Regions from separate parts of the Homo sapiens genome. Here region 2 is linked to region 1. Evidence: promoter capture Hi-C in human tissues and cell types (Jung and others, 2019). All regions are on one chromosome and are shown on one strand. The core of a region is centred on a gene start or on the middle of the fragment in contact, and the rest is flanking DNA. Distances in the headings are between cores, read along the strand shown.

Region 1 (2,832 bases), core at 215-2,714:
GGGAGAGAGACCCTGGGGTTGTCGGTTAACTTTACCACATATCATCTCGTGACCGCTTACAATATAGGAATTTAGAAGAGGGTGTAACTTAAGTTTATCCACATTTCTCGTGACCTTCCCCATGCTGCCTGTTGGGCTGTAAGCAAGTCTGGTGACCTTGCTGTAGCACCTAGATAAGGGTCCAGGAATGCAGCTTCGGAGTATTCAGGGTAAGGGTCAGCTGCATTGTGTGTGGGGCGGGGGGTTCCTGGGGCAACTTGTCCCTAACAGGGTCAGGATTAGTTCTATCTGGTTCTCTATTTGCTGTCCATCTGTAAATGCTGAGAATGGCAGAGGGAGGCCAAGTGTAGATAATCAGGTTTTAGCTTTTTTGGATTTTCCTACTTCTCCTGTACAGGAAATAACTTATTGTCTAAACCCCATACTATCCCATTAAATGTCAGGAGTGCTGTCTTAGGCCTGAATTAGCTCATGACGTTACGTACTGGAAGTCCCAGGAGGAATGCCCAGCAAGTGGAATCCAAGACGTTCTCGCCTTCTCGGGGACAGGGCCATCACCAGGATTCGGAAAGGAACAGGGAGGTTCGGTTTGTGTTCCAGTTCTGAGCCCTTTACCTCATCCCTCGAGAAGCTGGCCTTTGCACCCCGCAGCCGGTGCTGCCCAGCCGACCACGCCATGCACGGGAGGCGACTGGGACCCCACTTGCCTGGCAGCCCGGCCGGAGACCCAGCTGCCTGGGAGGGTCCGAAGATAATGCCAGGCAGCCCTGGCGGGCCGGGAAGACCCTCTGTCCCTCCCGTTTCCCAGTTCTTGAATTAGGGGAGCCTTGGACTGGCTGGCGGCGCAGGAAAGTGCAGGAGGGCGGATGTGGGACCTGCTGCCGCCCAGGGAGACGGTGCTCTGTTCTTTGGAACCAGGGAAACCGTCCTCCAGCCCACTTGCCCCAGGGGGGAGCAGGAAGATCCTCTCCGGGCAGAGATGATGGGGAACCCGTGCAGCCAGAGGGTCTCCCTGGCAAAGGTCGGGGGAGGGGGCGGCCGTAACGGCCCCGGGCGCTCCGGCACGGAGAAGCCAAGGGGGTTCTCCAAGCAGCCTCCACCCACCAGCCTCGCCAGGAGAGCGTGGATACCCGAGCGGCCCCAAGCGAGTCCCCGGGGACTGGAGGGCCGAGGGGCAGCGCCCGGAACAAAGGCCCGCAGAGGGGTCCTGGAGACAGCGGCTCCCCGGGGGCGGCTCCCCTCTCTCCCCTCTCTCCCCTCCTCTCCTCTCCCGCCAGCTCCTCCTTCTCCTCCCCTTCCTCCCCCAGAGGCCCGGCCGGCTCGCGGCCCGAGCAGCGCCAACTTCGCCAACGGTTCCCAAGTTGCCGGGCGCGCAGGGGTGGGAGCTGGGTGGGGTGAGGAAGAGGAGGAGGAGGAGGAGAAGGGCTCCCGGACGCCTTGGACGCGGTTCAGGAATCCGCCGCCGCTAGCCGGCTCGGGCCTGAGCGGGGAGGGCGCCAGGCAGGACCTCTCGCAGGCTCGCTGCGCAGGACGGCGCCCGCCTGGCGCCGCTTCCCTTCCAGCGTGCCGACCGGCCCCGCAGCGCCTCCATCCCTCCGGCCCGCCCCGGAGAAGACGCACAGCTCGGGCCGCGCGGGCGCCGGGGCCGCGGAACCGCTTCTGCCGGGATCTTCCAGGAGGAAAGCGAAGTTGCGAGCGGATGCTGCCCGCGCCGGACCCCAGCCGCGGAGGGTCGGGGCCGCCGGTGGAGTCTCGGCGGCCGGGGTAAGTGGGGCGCCGGCGTCCTGGAACCGCCGCCCAGCCCGGGGGAGGCCGCCCAGCCGGGAGCCCCCGCCTTCCGCGTCCAGGCGCGCGCGCCAGACTTTGGAGGGAGAAGGGGGCGAAGCGGACGGTGGGAGGTGGAGTTCCCAGCTCGGGGAAAAGCCCAGGCAGGCACCCACAACCCGCTGCAACCGGATCACACCTGCCAGGTACACACAGCTCATCGCCACTCATACCCCGCACACGGCGCAGGCTGATCTGCGCACACCCACACCGGCCAGGCACATGCCACACACCGAAATGCACATTCCTGGGAGCGCGGGGGATTTGGCCTCTACAGCAGGCACGTCCTCACACCCCTCCGTCACATCCACGGCCTTTGTCTGCTGCCCCCGCAGCCCCCAAGGAGAGGGAGCCCCCAAAGCGCAGCGGGCAGGAGAGAGGCTGCCTGGGTTTTGAAAACTTGTGGCCAGAACCCCGAGACCAAGGGGAGCAGATGTTGCAGTCGGTTCTCGGAGTTCTGCAGGAGCGAATTTGGTGTGGAAACTCGGTGTCTGGGTGATGTGTGAGTGTGCGAAGCCCTTCCGGAGGCGAGGCCCGGAGAGAGGAGGGAGTGATTCATAAACTCAGAGCCGGCGTGCCAGGGTCTGTGAGCAGCGTGGAAGAGGCTGGCAGGCCGTTGCTGCGCTAGACAGAAGGGTAGTGGCCGTGACAGTCTTCCAGGGAAGCAGGGACCCTTCCCCCCAGCGGATGTGCTTCCTCCAGGGACTTCCAAGGGAACCGGGTGAGCAGATTCCAGTCCTGGGTGTGGACGGGGTAAGGGGAGGTGGGGGGATTTAAGCCTAAAAGGTTAGGGAGAAACCAAGGCAGGCCTGACGCCTTCATTATTTTCCTTGCACCTGAAGTTGTGTTTGGTTTCTGATGCGTGGTGTTGCTGGGCCCCAGGATGTACGGGGGATTGTCCTGGGCCTAGCATAGTGCCTGGCACAGTGGGCACTCAGTCAGTACTTGCTTGATGAATAATGACACCGGTAATTATCATTCATTATGGACTCACTGTGCGGCAAGGCC
Region 2 (2,907 bases), core at 14-2,513, 310 kb after region 1:
CTTACAGACGCATGAATGTAAGAGTAGGAAGGGGTGGGTGTCAGGGATCACTTGGGATCTTTGACACTTGAAAAATTACACCTGGCAGCTGCGTTTAAGCCTTCCCCCATCGTGTACTGCAGAGTTGAGCTGGCAGGGGAGGGGCTGAGAGGGTGGGGGCTGGAACCCCTCCCCGGGAGGAGTGCCATCTGGGTCTTCCATCTAGAACTGTTTACATGAAGATAAGATACTCACTGTTCATGAATACACTTGATGTTCAAGTATTAAGACCTATGCAATATTTTTTACTTTTCTAATAAACATGTTTGTTAAAACAGTTGGTTGAGTCTCTCATCAGTACCATGAAGTGAAAAGGAGGGAGATGGGTGCTAGTGAAAGGCAGGTCTCATCAGGCCCTGGGGTCCACCTGTGTGTTCCTCCATCCCTTTCCGGGACTGCCTGCCAGCCTGGTGACAGAGGTATGTGTACCGTGTGCCATCTGTGCCAAGAACCCTTGGCCCTGTGCTGGCTGAAGCTACTAGGAGAACACACTGGAAACCCCTGAAGGTAGGGGGTGAGTCAGACCTCCCACCGAGCCAGAGTCTCCAGAGGGAGAGCTCACCTGGCTGCCCCGGTTAGAAGGCCCAGACAGGAGGGCCCACTGAGCCCAAGGTCTTTAATAAACAGTGAAAGAACTAGAAAATACCTTTTTTCTTTCTGGGAGAAAAAAATCAGTTGTTCTACCATCATGAAAATTACAAATCTTATCTCTGGATTTAAAAAGACTAAGAGGGGGAGTTTGAAAAATGCTACTTAGCTCATGCCTCTCACTGGACAAGGAACCAAGAGGGGCATGAGCTGCCACTGGAAGGAAGTCTGGACCAGGCAGGTGCAGAACTCCTTGCACACACACAGGTGAGGGAAGGAGTGCTAAGGGCTTAGAGAGCAAGGAAATAGCAGGCCTACCTTAACGATACCTTGGGTCACCCAGACGTCCTCTGTGACCTGTTGTCCCAGCCACTTGGGATGCTGAAGCCAGAGGATTGCTTGAGTCCAGGAGTTCAAGGCTGCAGCCTGGGTGACAGCAAGACCCTGTCTCTAAAAACAAAAGATGCATTGTGCATTCTGGGCCCTAAGTTCCTTGTCAGAAAAATTGGCAAATTGGAGTTGGGCCAGATGAAGCCCAGGGCCTTTCCCCCTTCTTCCCTGGAATTACATCCACCCACACCAACTGGCATTTGGAGAGTTTTTATCTCCCTTGTTTCTCTTCCTGGTCCCAGACAGGCCTTGTTTGCTCAAGACTAAAACAGTGGCTCTTGCACTTGAGCGTGTGTAATCAGATCACATGGGCCCTCCTGGAGATTCTCAGTGCATCCGGGCCAGGGCCCCAGGAATCTGCATTTACATCAGGGATTCCAATAGAGGGTCCTAAACTTTACGATGACTTGGAAGACCCATCTCTCTTTGGTAGAACTGAGTGATTTGTTCCCCAAAATGGATAAACTTGGATTAGAAGTGCATTTGGAAATGGATAGTGAGAACAGTGAAGAAGGTGCCCAGACCAGTGTGAGGAAAGCCCTCACACCCATTTTCTTAGCACATCCTCCTAATAGCCACCCTGTGAGGGGTGGGTGGCGGCAGGGGTTTTTAATGTTTTACAGATTAGTAAATGGAGGCCCAAGCCCTGGAATGGTCATCTTCTTGGATAAGGGCTGACTTTGTCCACTCCCAGCCTATTGAGATTCAGGGCTGGGAGTAAAGCAAGCTTGACACCTGGGCTGAGTCTGAAGGGCACTTTCCCGGGAACTGAGATCTGTGCCAATGCTCACGACCCTGCCTCCCCAGTCTCAAAAGAGAAGCAAGGAAACAATTGTCTTCAGAGTACAGAGTCTTGTTGGTATTTGGGGGCCTGAGCTGGATGGATTGGTCAGCATTAGCCCTTCTCCAAGCCAAGGAGGCAGCTGAGCCCAGCACCGTACCTTTTCTTAGATAGTCAGACTGAGGCCAAATCAAAGCTTGGGTTCCCAAGCTAGCTCAGCTGAGATGCCCTCTCCCAGAGCCAAACTGGCTTCCCTCATTCTCACAGGGCCTGAAAATCCTCCTGCAGCAGGACAGAAGGGTCCGCAAGTGGGAGCCCTGAGCTTGAGTCTCACAGTAAAGGGAAGAGGGTTGCTGAGGCCCAAGACAGTTCTGGGTCCTGAGGTCTGCTAAGACATGGCAGGGAGCTTTGCCCCAGGTACCGGACTTGCTAAGAAAAAATGGGGCAGGCTTCTTTGTTGCTAAGCAGGAAAGCTAAGAAAGCTTATAAAGACCTACACATAAAATCAACTTTGGTAAATGCTTTCAGAAATTGTCCTATTTAGTGAGACCCTATCTGATAAAGAAAGGAAGGAAAGAAAAAAAAGAAAGGAAAGGAAAGGGGAAAGGAAAAAGGAAAGGAAAGGAAAAAGATTGCCCTATTTGGCCTGGAAAATATGTACTGATTACCTCCCTTCCTACAGGATTCCCTCTCTTATTCCTATTTCCCACCTCATCGGGTCAATGCTCTAGAACCTGCAATGGTTCCCTATTGCCAGATTCCACTGCTGGTCTTTTAGGACATTTGGTGTTGGGCCCTATACTCCCTACTGAGGCTTACCTCCCACCATTCCCCTTAACTGGGGGCAAGTCAATCTGGACTGCCCTTTTCTCTAGCCGCAGACTCCGCTCATTCTAGTGCCTTCCACCAAGGATATCTTCCTGAGTTTTGCTGGCAAGCCCTGTCCTTCCTTTAAGGCCTAGAGCAAGTTCCAGCCTTTTTATGGCTCTTTTCTGCTTTCCCTCCCCCCATCTTTCACAATTGCAGTGTGAAAACATGGCATACAATGATCTCATTGTATGCACTTGTTTTATATCCCCCTAGCTCTATAGAACACCCCTAGGTTCTCC

Evidence for each region. The method cuts DNA at HindIII sites, captures the fragments that hold promoters and counts their contacts. A contact is called where the count stands out against the background at its distance.
Region 2: a fragment that was not itself captured here is called in contact with the fragment with the promoter of CHST3 in region 1 in 1 of the 25 tissues and cell types used here (dorsolateral prefrontal cortex).

Annotation. Positions count from the first base shown.
Region 1 is chr10:71,962,931-71,965,762 of GRCh38, forward strand. CHST3 (carbohydrate sulfotransferase 3) reads left to right here and starts at 1,465. Exons shown (of 3, transcript NM_004273.5): 1 at 1,465-1,764. The HindIII fragment of the contact is 9,967 bases long and covers 1-2,832 here.
Region 2 is chr10:72,275,721-72,278,627 of GRCh38, forward strand. It overlaps DDIT4 (DNA damage inducible transcript 4), which reads left to right. Exons shown (of 3, transcript NM_019058.4): 3 at 1-316. Among named protein-coding and RNA genes, the nearest start is that of DDIT4, 3.2 kb to the left of the region's middle. RefSeq lists an enhancer at 1-370. The HindIII fragment of the contact is 3,010 bases long and covers 1-2,768 here.